2 separate regions of the Homo sapiens genome follow, and region 1 is linked to region 2. The links are contacts of gene promoters, found by promoter capture Hi-C in blood cells and fetal thymus (Javierre and others, 2016). All regions are on one chromosome and are shown on one strand. The core of a region is centred on a gene start or on the middle of the fragment in contact, and the rest is flanking DNA. Distances in the headings are between cores, read along the strand shown.

Evidence for each region. The method cuts DNA at HindIII sites, captures the fragments that hold promoters and counts their contacts. A CHiCAGO score of 5 or more calls a contact.
Region 1: a fragment that was not itself captured here is called in contact with the fragment with the promoter of KLF4 in region 2 in 1 of 17 cell types (monocytes); the score reaches 5.7 in monocytes.

Annotation. Positions count from the first base shown.
Region 1 is chr9:107,626,680-107,633,478 of GRCh38, reverse strand. It overlaps LOC105376205 (a long non-coding RNA gene), which reads right to left. Exons shown (of 9, transcript XR_930217.2): 8 at 1,800-1,873. Among named protein-coding and RNA genes, the nearest start is that of KLF4, 140 kb to the right of the region's middle. RefSeq lists an enhancer at 542-1,179. The HindIII fragment of the contact is 1,230 bases long and covers 646-1,875 here.
Region 2 is chr9:107,488,426-107,494,805 of GRCh38, reverse strand. KLF4 (KLF transcription factor 4) reads left to right here and starts at 5,037. Exons shown (of 5, transcript NM_004235.6): 1 at 5,037-5,638; 2 at 5,756-5,876. The coding sequence starts at 5,634. RefSeq lists silencers at 4,756-4,965, 5,325-5,524, 6,176-6,225. The HindIII fragment of the contact is 11,219 bases long and covers 1,219-6,380 here.

The DNA of each region.
Region 1 (6,799 bases), core at 11-2,510, 140 kb before region 2:
GGAATGCTCATTTACCTTGATGGTTGTGTATTCAAAACCCACCACAGCTCAAATGATCTTATTTACATGCAGTTCTATTTAGCAGTGAACAGGCAGGGGACCTTCCATCACAGTCCAGTCCTTTGTTGGGACAAAAACTGCCCCTATTCGAATTTCCACTGTGCTGACATACCACCGCTCCAAAAGAGGAAAGTCCTAAGGAATCAAAAAGAAAAAGAGAGGGAGGGAAGGATCCAGCTCAAGCCAGCACACCTCCACCTCCCCTGAATAATGTATGTCTGATTTGTTTGTTTTCCTTCTGCAAGGTTGGCTGGCCTTGCCTCCTCTTTAATAGATACATTTTTTTAAAAAAATCAGAACTGGTTGAGTTCCAACTATGTGCCATTTCTTTTCACACATCTTATATAATTTCATTCTCATCTCATTCATTTTATAGATGAAAAACAGTCTCAGAGAGGTTAGGAAGTTTCCCTTCCGTCACACATCTAGAAGATGCCACTGCATGCTGAGAGCACTTTCAAATTCTTTTTCTCCAGTCTTCCCCAACAACTCACAGCCACCCAACATATGGGCTTGCGCACATACACACCATACTCACACTTCATTGACTATGTTTTAGAGAAAGATTCAACACTGGAAGAAGCTTACTTATTGAAACAGAGTGTATCATTCTGGGAAAGATCAATTCACAAATTCACAACAGGAGGAAAAGGGAGGAAAAGGGAGATACAATCAGGAAAGAACGCAGGGAAAGTTTAAGCTGTATTTGGTAACATTTTATCTGTTAGGCTGGATGGCATTTACACGAGTGTTTGTATGTTGGACTTTGTAAGTGTTCATTTATTGTAAATCTGTCATAATACATTTTCAGATTTAGCAGCATTGCCCGTGCTCACTCCCAGTTCTTGCCATCCACACATACATCACCAGACATACACACTGACAAACACAGAGCCATACTCCGCACACCGACAAGTACACACAAGCACCGACACACACTCATCCATACACATTCACACATTTATCTTCACGTGTTGAGTCACGAGAACCCCCACACTGGCTCGTGTTGACAAGCACACACTCACACACACACAAACACACTGCCTGCTAACGTAGCCTCTGACCACCCCTCTTCTCCAGTCAAGGACAACAGGGTCAGATGCAGAGACCCTAAAATCTGGGAGGCTGAGATGACACCAGCTGAGCGATGGGCCCACCTGAAATTGCACAGAGTGGGAAGGCACAAGGCCTGCTTCAGGGAGCTGGCACAGGCAGGTGCCACTGACGGCCAGTCACACGAGACCCGTGTGTGTCCCCCAGGCCCAGGCAGATGTTCTCTCTCACCACAGGCTCCTCTAGGAAGGGACAGAGTTAAGGAGCAGAGGGAAGACTCTGGTGTTTCACAGTTTGGGGTGGGAAGCAGTAACTTGTGTGGGAAACAAACTCCTCGGAAACCATAGCAACACCCATTTGGCAGCTCTGGATTGGACCCTGACCAGACATTTATTAAGCAGCCGCATAAGCTGTGGTCTCCAGAAGAACAATACCAAACTGATCAAATGTTAATAGCTTCAATCTGTTCCTCCTCACACAGCTCCTACCCATCCCCCTCTCTCAACAGACTTTGCATTTCTGCTTCTTAGCCTCAGCAGAAGACCGCCTCTGCTGCTACCCTAGAGCCTAAGTTCAAGTCCAGGACCACGAGGCATGTGCAGGTGACTTAGAGTGCAGAGATGGAAGGCAGGTCTCACCAGGGGGCCCTTGGGGTCTAAATGGGGCCATTCTTCGGTTAGACTCACCGAGCTGAATAGTGTCCAAGATCATGTGATTGGATACTTCTTAACCTCACTGCTTTTAAGAATTAGCTGGTAAGCTTTAAAAAAAAAAAAAAAAAAAAAGTCAATGTAATCTGAGTCTCTAGGGAACAGGGTCTGATCATTTGTATTTTTTAAATTTCCTCAGTCAATTCTAATATGCAGCCAGTATTGAGAACCACCGCATAATTTCAGCTCCTTGTAGAAGTGGGGGTGGGGAAGCCCAAAGAGGGACAGGGACTTGCCCAAGGTCACAGAGCTGGTGAGACACCATGCTGAGGGAGAACCCAGACATCCTAACCCTAGACAAGTCGTGTTCATTTTCCTGGGCAACAGCACTCTATGTGAGTCTTAAAAATGTATCCCTCTCCAGCCAGGCGTGGTGGCTCACACCTGTAATCCCAACACTTTGGGAGGACGAGGCAGCTGGATCACCTGAGGTCAGGAGATCAAGACCATCCTGGCTAACATGGTGAAACCCCTTCTCTACTAAAAACATAAAAATCAGCTGGGCTTGGTGGCGCCTGCCTGTAATCCCAGCTTCTCGGGAGGCTGAGGCAGGAGAATCAGTTGAACCAGGAAGTTGGAGGTTGCAGTGAGCTGAGATCACGCCACTGCACTCCAGCCTGGTGACAGAGCCAGACTCTGTCTCAAAAAAAAAAGTATCCCTCTCTTTAACTCACTATGGGTCCTGCTCTTTTCTGCCAGGACTTGGGGGTCGAGGAGGTGGTTGCAGGGGAAGGTGATAAAATGAATCCAAGGAGGATGCCAGAAAATGTGTTTTTGTGCTGGGTTTTGTTTTGTTTTTGTTTTTGCTCTGTTGTGCAGGCTGGAGTGCAGTGGCGCAGTCTTGGCTCACTGCAACCTCCGCCTCCCAGGTTCAAGGGATTCTTGTGCCTCAGCCTCCCAAGTAGCTGCTACCAGGCCCAGCTAATTTTTTGTATTTTTAGTAGAGACAGGGTTTCACTATGTTGGCCAGGCTGGTCTCAAACTCTTGGCCTCAAGTGATCCTCCTCCCTCCAGCCTCCCAAAGTGCTGGGATTTATAGGTGTGAGCTACTACACCCAGCCCAGAAAATGTAGTTTTAACAAAAATATAAAGGACCAGATATTCAAGACATCACGACAGTCACACTGACTGGTTTACATTTGCCATAGTTAAGACAGAATTTATCATGGCTAAACATGGGACTCTCCAACCAGATACCCAGGCCCCCAAGCCCCAAGCCTGGGAAATATCTTCACTTCCTCCAGTGTCATTAGTGCCCCTGTGAAGTCGGTCTCCGCGCTGTGAAGAGTCTACCTCATAGGGATATGGCGACATCCTCAGAAGCATTGGTTGATTTCCCAATCCATACCACCATCCTCTCTCACCCAAAATGCCTAACCAGCCTCCCTCCACAGGCAGAGGTTCTGTCATCCATCCTCCACAGAGCCGCCAAAACATTCTCTCTAGAACACACATCTGGCTATGCTGCCCCATGGCCAAAGCCTCTGTTTTTAGGTGCACCCAAGCAGCTTGCTCATTGCACACTGACCACATCCCACCCTCTAGGTGAAGGCCAGGGACTCCAGTGGGAAATAAGATAAACATGGTCCCAGCTAGTGTTCAAGTTATATTCTCCATGAGGAGACCAACACTGACTAATCATGCGACTGCAACAGCTACAGAGCTGAAAGAGGGGTAATACTGAGAGAGTGTGTAATGGGGGTCACATTGCCCTCTCTGGCCACGTCAAGAATGGATTGTTCTGGCCAGGTGCAGTGGCTCACAGCTGTAATCCCAGCACTTTGGGAGGCCGAGGCAGGTGGATCACTTGAGGTAAGGAGTTTGAGACCAGCCTGGCCAACATGGAGAAACCCCATCTCTACTAACAGTACAAAAATTAGCCGAGCATGGTAGCACACACCTGTAATCCCAGCTACTCAGGAGGCTGAGGTAGGAGAATCGCTTGAACCCAGCAGGCGGAGGTTCCAGTGATCCGAGATTGCACCACTGCACTCCAGCCTGGGTGACAGGCCAGACTCCATACCAAAAAAAAAAAAAAAAAAAAAAAATGGATTTTTCTGAGCAAAGGATGGGATGTTTAATCTGATATCTGAAGGGTGAGGGAGTTAAGAAAAAGGGGAGGAAGAATGGTCTCAACAAAGGGAACAATGATATGCACAGATGCTCTGGGTGGTACAGGAGCACAGTCTAGGACCCAAGAGCAAGGAGAGAGGGGTGCACAATGAGGCAGGTCAGGGGTCAGATCACACAGAGCCTTTTAAGTCATGGAAGAGATTTGGGGTTTAGCCTTTGGATTTTAGTAGAGTGACTAACCATACCAGTGTGCCTGGGCTGAGGTGTTTCCCAGGGTGTAGAACTTATAGTGCCAAGATATGGAGGGATGGTGGGGAGGGTGGAGAGTACCAGGACTGCGGGAGGGTAACGAACTCAGTGGCTGAGTTTGGGAAGTTAGTGCAGTATTCAAGTGGAAATGTTAGCTAAGCTCCTATTTCTACCGGTCTGAAACTAGAGATCTTTGCAGAAAGAAATAGGTGTGGGAGCTATCAGCTCAGAGAAGGTAATTGAAGTATGGGAGTTGAATAGTCAACCAAGAGATAAAGTAAAAAGAAAGCTGGCAGATAAAATAAACTCCAGCCTTCATGAACCCCAGTGTATAAAGATCTGGTAGCTAAAGGTGAAAACAAGTAAAGGAGGCTGAGAAGGAGCAGCCAAGGCTCTCCAGCAGGAAAACCATGAGTCTGTGGGGTCTCTATGCATGAGAAGAGGGAGGGTCAGCAGGACAGAATGTTCCACCGTCATCAATGCCACTAGAAAATCTAACCAAACAACTGGGAAATACCAACGGACAATGGAATGTGGAGGTCATGATGACCTTGTGAAGCAGCAAAGGTAGAGGTGGATTGGGGCGTGATTGGAGGGGGAGGGAAATGGAGACGATGCGCATAGCACAGAACATTTATTTGAAAAATTTGGCTGGGAGGGAAATTGATGAGTCAGGAGCTGGAGTAAGATGTGAGGTGGAGTGAGGGTTTGCTGTAAGATGAGAGACCTGAGTGCGGGTAAACGTTGATGGGGAGGATCCAGCAGAAAAGGAGGGATCAGACAACGTAGGAGTCCCCACAACTCACCGCACACTGCCTCCTGCAAGCTCTGCACACCGCGCCTCCAAACACTCCATGCATTCTTTGCCTGATACGCACCCTCCCTTTATCCGTGATAACTCTTACTGGAATCAAAGGACCACCCCGGGAAGCCGTCCCTCATCTGTATTTGTACAGCCCAGCACATGCACCTCTGCCACAGCACCCAAATTTGGCTGCTTTCCATGTGGTCTCTCCTGCTAAATGGTGAGCTCTTCAAAGGCACAAAACTCACTCCAAATCTTAGCCCACGCATTGGCTGGCCCAGAGTACATGCTCAGTAAACACTTGTAGAATGAATAAATGAATGAACAATGTTAGTAATCAACAATAAACTAGAAGATGCACATGACCAACATTGAGGACTTCTGGGTTGGCAAGAAGGGTGAGTTCTGTTCCCCAGAAGCAGGGCCCTCAAAGAAGCTGGTTCCTACGATCCCTGAAAGGGGGAAGGGGACTGGAAGGCAGGGTGTGGTGGACTCCTCACCGAGCTCACATTCTTCCCTTCCATTGTTCCTGGCGGCTGCACATGGAAAGTACAACACCCACTAAGGCCCATGTGTTTCCCTCCTGCCCTCCCTCAGCAGGGAGGGAACAGATGGGTGTAATTTATGCCCACACCCTCCTCTTGCAGCCTTGGCACTGGGGAGAGGGGACGCAGGGGCAGAGACCCACCCAGGTTCCACAAACTTCTCTCAGTACTGAGGCAAGAGAGCCACAGCAGGGGCTAGCTGGGCCAGGAGCAGGAGAGGACAGGCAGAGGGGAGGAGGGGGATAAAAAGAACAGAACTGCCATGTGGGAGTGTCCATGGCATTCCAGCATTGTGCCAGGTGGGTGCATACATTATCTCAGCACATTTCTGCAAGGAGCAGGCTCTTGCACCTACTTGAAACTCAGAGAGGTGAAGGAACTGCTCCAAGGTCACCCAGCTGGTGAGTGGCTGCAGTGTCAGGGTTCTAATCCAGGTCTCCCTGGTTCCAAAAACAGTGTCCTCCCCACTAGACCCCACTGTGGGAGAAAGTCACATCTTCAAGCCTCCCTGCACCCTCCCTCTCATGGGTCATCTAGGGCCATGACAGGCAAAAGGACCCTCAAGGTTCACATTCTTCTGCTGAAGGAAGCTGGACACTAATGCCAAGACTGTAGAAAACACATACAGATGAGCTGGAGAAGGCAAAGCTGGAGAGAAACACAAAGATGAGTGTGGAAAGGGCCAGGGGCCAGGTCCTGTCAGGGCAGGCACTGCCTTGGAGGTGAACCCTCCGAAGGTGACTGTCCTGCAGCCAATCCTCAAAGCTGGAAAATAGGCTAAGAATGATATTCTGAGAAATGCTGAGCTCTGAGACACCAAAACATACCTTCCCTTCTTGGCCACCTCTTCCCTCTTCCTTTAACGGCAATTGAGGCAACTGGCATAGAATCCATGTTTAGGGAATCACATGAACCTGGATTCAAACCTGTAGCTCCTCTGCATGCTAGCTGTGTGCCTGTGGGGAAGTCATGTGGCCCTCCTGAGCCTCAGTCTCTTTATCCATAAAATAAGGTTGTGAAAAGGAGATGACTGGGCCGGATGTGGTGGCTTACACCTGTAATCCCAGCACTTCAGGAGGCCGAGGGAGGCAGATCATCTGAGATCAGGAATATAACACCAGCCTGGGCAACACAGTAAAACCCTGTCTCTACAAAACATACAAAAATTTGCTGGGCATGGTGGTGGGCACCTGTAATCCCAGCTACTCAGGAGGCTGAGGCAGGAGAATCGCTTAAACCTGGGAGGTGGAGGTTGCAAGGCTGCAGTGAGCCGAGATCGCACCACTGCACTCCAGCGTGGGCAA
Region 2 (6,380 bases), core at 3,788-6,287:
GCTGTAAATGAGGCAAGCTTAAACCAAAGCAGCCCGAGAGTAGTAAAAAGATAGTGGGGATATTTAGGAATGGAAATGGCTGAGTTTTGTAGATGTCTGGATGCTCAGGTCAAAGAAAATAAGGCAGGAGTTGAAGAAAATCTAGGTTTCTGTCTTAGAAACCGGGGAGAGAATGACGAAATTTTAAATCTGGGTGTGTTGCGGTTCTTGATAAGAAAGAGGATTAATGAGTCTACAGTGGATGCTGAAAGATGAGCTTCCTGCTAATGGATTATTCAAAAAGAAAAAACACATTAAATATGCATTATTCATTCACTCAACAAACACTTACAGGGCATTACCATGTGCTAGGTAGGCACTATAATAGGACTTGGGGATATAGCAGTGAACAAAACAGTAGCCTCAGCCTCATCATGTTTATGATACCCTGGGGAATACTGATGATAGTAATAGCTACTATGTGTTGAGTGTTAAGTCTGTGCTAAATACTTTACTTTAGATTATCTGATTTGATCCTCATCACTCTAAGAAGTAGGCATTATTAATATCCCCATTTTACAGAAGAGGAAACAGGCAAAGTGCAAAGTGAGGTCAGTAACTTGCCCAGCTAGAAAGCAGCAGAGTCATGTTGGGAAACACAGAGTCAAAGCCTACTTTCCTAACCTCTAAAGTCTACACAAGACAGAGGGTAAAAAGAGGCTGGCATTCTTATGGTTTTAGGTCTAACATTTAAGTCTTTAATCCATCTTGAATTAATTTTTGTATAAGGTGTAAGGAAGGGATCCAGTTTCGGCTTTCTACATATGGCTAGCCAGTTTTCCCAGCACCGTTTATTAAATAGGGAATCCTTTCCCCATTGCTTGTTTTTGTCAGGTTTGTCAAAGATCAGATAGTTGTAGATACGCGGCATTATTTCTGAGGGCTCTGTTCTGTTCCATTGGTCTATAATGAGAACACATGGACACAGGAAGGGGAACATCACACACTGGGGACTGTTGTGGGCGGGGGGGAGGGGGGAGGGATAGCATTAGGAGATATACCTAATGCTAAATGACGAGTTAATGGGTGCAGCACACCAACATGGCACATGTATACATATGTAACAAACCTGCACGTTGTGCACATGTACCCTAGAATTTAAAGTATAATAATAATAAAATTTAAAAAAAAAAGAGGCTGGAGTTCACAAGGAGATGAGGGTGGAGACTGAGAAAAGCTTTGCCACCTTGTGAAAGCTGCAAGCTCCTTTTACAGTTATTTATTAGCAGGGATTTCATTTCAAAGCAATTCGGGTACTTAAAATCTATCTCTTGTTTTCACTTTTTTAAAAAGCAGTTTTTCAGGCAGGGCGCAGTGGCTCATGCCTGTAATCCCAGCACTTTGGGAGGCGGAGGCGGGTGGATCGCCCGAGCTCAGGAGTTGGAGACCACCCTGGGCAACATGGTGAAACCCCCATCTCTACTAAAATACAAAAAATTAGCTGGGCATGGTGGAACGCGCCTGTAGTCTCAGCTACTCTGGAGGCTGAGGCATGAGAACTGCTTCCACCTCCACCCTGGAAGTGGAGGTTGCAGTGAGCCAAGATCACGCCACTGCACTCCAGCTTGGGCTACAGAGTGAGATTCTGTCTCAAAAAAAAAAAAAAGTTTTTTTTTTTTTGAGTTTTTCTTGAGTCCTGCGGCAGTTATGCAGAGACACCCAGCCAGGGTGCAGCCAGGTCACGGGGTGCTCTATGTGTCCAGACCCCATACCCAGTTATGGGTGCTGAATCTTTCATTTGAAACATGGATGCAGCTTCTTCAGTCTATCACACCCCTCCATGGCTCCACATTAATCCCCTAGCACTAATGGTGTTCATCACATCTTCTGACAACTAATGCAGTTTGTGCTGGAAAAAAAATTATTTTATAACTCCAAGGACATTAATAATTAACTTCTAGTCCACAAAACTAGTAATATCAGTTTGCTGAAATAAAGTCACCAGTGAGTGTTTCATTCTTCTTTAAAGGGTGTCTTCTATTATTATTATTCTACAGTGCAATTTAGTCATCAAAGGTTTACTCAGCCTCATGTTTATAAATTATATAGGGCAAGGATTTAAGTCTTCTGGCCCTACCTGTTCTGAAGACAGGGAGGGCCATAACCTTGTTGTCATACAGGGCACCTGCCTTGAGAGATGATTTGTGAACTTGAAGTTTCTTGCTTCTTTTAGAAATCTGGGGTGAATATACAGATTTCCCTTTGTGACGCAATCAGAGGAATAACCAGCTAGTTGCCTGCCACGAAGAGAGACTGGCTTTTATCCTTCAGAAGGCCGGTTGGAAACAAGTTCATCTTTTTCAATCGAGTTTCAGAATCTTGTCTTGATTATGTGACATAATAATGGTGGCTTTCCAATTCTTCTGTGCAATATTGTTTTTTCATTGTGGTGGTTACAGATAGTTTTTTTTTTGAGGGGGAAGGGCTACTGCCTTAGAGAAATAAAAGTAAAGCAGAAATAATCTAGTGTGCTGCCTACCTAAGTTGGAAATTCCAAGTCCTGACCCACGTTTACATCCCAAGGGAGATGGCTGCCAATCAAGGGCTCATCCACTGTTCATCCAGGGTGAGGGACTTTGGCTTTCCTGAAAAAGTGGTGAGTTTCCCATGCAGCCCTCAAATCACAGCATCCCAAGATGTTGCCATCACAATTAAAGGAGTAGGGGAGGAAGTGGCAGGTGTCTTCCTTTTTTGGTTCCTCCGTTTGAAAAGGGCTTAAAGTAAAAATCAGAGTTAAAGTAACTGGCCTGATCCTATATAGGGGGGTGGGGTTGAACTCCTCGAGGTCATAGGAAGGAGGACCTCGGTTTCCCTGCCAAAACACTCTCATCCCCCAGCTGCAACCCTGGCAGCCCTTGGCCAGAGCCAAGCTAGAGGATGGAAGTCACACTCAAGGGCGTCCGACTCTGGATCTTAGAGGGATTCCTGGCGTTGGCAGGGAGGGCCGAGTCAATTCATTCGGGGCGAGATGCATTCCAAGAATGCTTCTGTGGTCGGCGAGGAGTGGAAAAATCAGGTATCACAAATATTCTGAGGAAACCTAATAGGTACCAGAATCGCAGGGTTCAAACAGGTGACAACGACAAAGGACATTGGCAACTAGAACTCAAAAAGGGGTGAGCGCACTCTCTGCCCGGTGCCCGAGCTTCCACCACTTTCCCCAGTGTCCCCTCTCTTCTCTTTCCTAGGTTGACACCAGCCTAAGCGCCAGCGTTCGCCGGTGAGGGGGCTCCGTGGAGAGGGGGGCGGAGTCCCGCGCCGAACGCCGGAATCCAAAGTAAACACCTCGCCAAACCTACGTTTAGAAAGTGATACCGAACACCACATTCACGTTTTAAAAAAAAATACTGTTTGCTAAGAAGATGAGAGCAAAACATTTCCCAGCTGGAAAATTACTGATCACAAACCAAGGGGAGAGTGGGGGTGGGGGAGGCAGCGTTATAAGATTGAAGTAAAGATCGCCGTTTCCTATTCCCTTCCCGGTGGGCAAGGACGCCTGCGGCGGGCTCGGTGTGCACTTTTTGAGAGCTAGGATCCCACCGCATCGCTCCACTTCCTGGCACATGGTCACTTCCCAGGGAAGTCCCTTTAGGGGGGCCTGACCTACCCGGAGCCTGAGCCGAAGGAACGAGTTGTCCTTTGACCTTTACTGGCCATTTCACCTCTTTATGACTCAATTTCTCATCCATAAAGTGGAAAGGAGAGTGCGTGGCTTGAAAAGTCATCAGTGAGTGTTTAATTCTTCTTTAATGGGTGTCTTCTATTATTATTATTATTCTACAGTGCAATTTAGTCATCAAATATTACAGGCAGTGGCTCACGCCTGTAATCCCAGCACTTCGGGAGGCCGAGGCAGGCTGATCACTTGAGGTCAGGTGTTCGAGACCTGCCTGGCCAACATGGTGAAACCCCGTCTCCACGAAAAATACAAAAATTAGCCGGCGTCGTGGCGCACGCCTGTAATCCCCGCTACTCGGGAGGCTGACGCAGGAGAATCGCTTGGACGCAGGAGGCGGAGGTTGCACTGAGCTGAGATCGTGCCACTGCATTCCAGCTTGGGCGACACAGCGAGACTCTGTCTCACAAAAAAAAAAAAAAGAAAGAAAAAAAAAGGAAAGGGCTTCGAGATGGCTGGTTGAAAACTGTCTCCGCGCCTCACAGTCCCTCTTCTCTCCCTTATGCCTCTGAGTAAATCTTGAGCCCTTTCACTCCCTTTCTCGCTATTTAAAGTATCAAAACCATAACTCCCCATTCGTGCCTCTTTCCGCCTGTTCCCGGCGGAACACTCCTCTGGCCTTCTCTTGAGGCTCCCAGTTCACGCTGCACAGTGCTGGGCACTGCCTCCTCTCCACACCCCTAGCGCCCCCCACCCCTCAGCAGAAGGGCCCGCGAGGAACCGTGCGAGGTCAGGCCGAGCGCCGGCACCGCCACCGGCACTGGCGCTGAGCGACGAGAGCGGACTCCTGCGAGCGCAGAGAGGGAGGGGGAGATGGAGGGCTGGATGAGTCACGCGGATAATCGCGCTCTTCTCCAGCGCGCAGACAGCGCGGCAAGCGCGTATGCTAGCAGGGGTGCGGACGCGTGACCGTGCCGCCCGCTGACCCCACCAGTCTTCGCGGGCTTCGAACCCAGGGAGCCGACAATGGCGGTGAGTACGGCCCTGGTCGCGCAGCGACCGAACCTGCGCCCGGTTCCTCGCGCCCCGCGCTGGGGCGGACGCCGCCGCCGCCGCCGACACCACTGCCGCCGGCGTCAGCTCGGCTCCAGCCCGCCAGCTGCCTGGCTGGCGTCACGGCCCGGCCCAGCCCCGCCCGCGCCCCTCCTTCCCCTCCCCCGCCCCCACGTGCGCCGAGTTTGTTGATTTAGCTGCCATAGCAACGATGGAAGGGAGCCTCGGGGGGGGCGGAGAGAAGAAAGGGAGGGGCGGGGCATGGGAGAAGGCGGAGGAAAAGGCTGTAGCGAAGGAAGTTATAAGTAAGGAACGCGCGCCGGCGGCCGGCAGTTTCCCGACCAGAGAGAACGAACGTGTCTGCGGGCGCGCGGGGAGCAGAGGCGGTGGCGGGCGGCGGCGGCACCGGGAGCCGCCGAGTGACCCTCCCCCGCCCCTCTGGCCCCCCACCCTCCCACCCGCCCGTGGCCCGCGCCCATGGCCGCGCGCGCTCCACACAACTCACCGGAGTCCGCGCCTTGCGCCGCCGACCAGTTCGCAGCTCCGCGCCACGGCAGCCAGTCTCACCTGGCGGCACCGCCCGCCCACCGCCCCGGCCACAGCCCCTGCGCCCACGGCAGCACTCGAGGCGACCGCGACAGTGGTGGGGGACGCTGCTGAGTGGAAGAGAGCGCAGCCCGGCCACCGGACCTACTTACTCGCCTTGCTGATTGTCTATTTTTGCGTTTACAACTTTTCTAAGAACTTTTGTATACAAAGGAACTTTTTAAAAAAGACGCTTCCAAGTTATATTTAATCCAAAGAAGAAGGATCTCGGCCAATTTGGGGTTTTGGGTTTTGGCTTCGTTTCTTCTCTTCGTTGACTTTGGGGTTCAGGTGCCCCAGCTGCTTCGGGCTGCCGAGGACCTTCTGGGCCCCCACATTAATGAGGTAGGTGAGGCGCGCGGCGCTGGGAGCAGGGAGGGGTGAGGACCGGTGGGACGCGCCGGAACGACGGCCGAAAGCCGCCCCTGACTCTCCTGTCTCCGCTCCCTGCCTTGCTCGCAGGCAGCCACCTGGCGAGTCTGACATGGCTGTCAGCGACGCGCTGCTCCCATCTTTCTCCACGTTCGCGTCTGGCCCGGCGGGAAGGGAGAAGACACTGCGTCAAGCAGGTGCCCCGAATAACGTGAGTATCGCTCCGGGCCGCCGGGAACGCCCGGTGGGTTTTCGTGGGTGTGGTGGGGGCGGGCGGAGCCTTGGGGTCACCAAGAGCCACTGAACGAGGGTAAGGAGCGGCCACCGCGCGGACTCCGCAACCTTCCCGGGATAGCTTCCGTGTCCTTGGCTCAGCTGTGTATGCCCGTGGTGCGAGCACTGCGGAGCCGCCTGGGGCGCAAGCCGGGTCTTCACCAGTCCCCGGGCGCGCTGTCGGTAGGGCGGGCGCTCTCGGGCCACCGGGCGGGAGGTGGCCGCGTCCCCAGACACTGGCTGGGCCAGAGTGAGTTTAGCGCGTAGGCGGCCCCGTGGCGAGAGCGCACCGAGAGAGCCTCGGTGTGCCAATTCCGGGGACGTCCACGGGACCTGGAGGGGGAGGGACCAGCCGCGGCGCTCGCTCACACGCAATTGGGCAGACAGGACATAACACCCGCAATACAGACGCATCACCTCTTCTTCGACCCGGGAGTGGGCC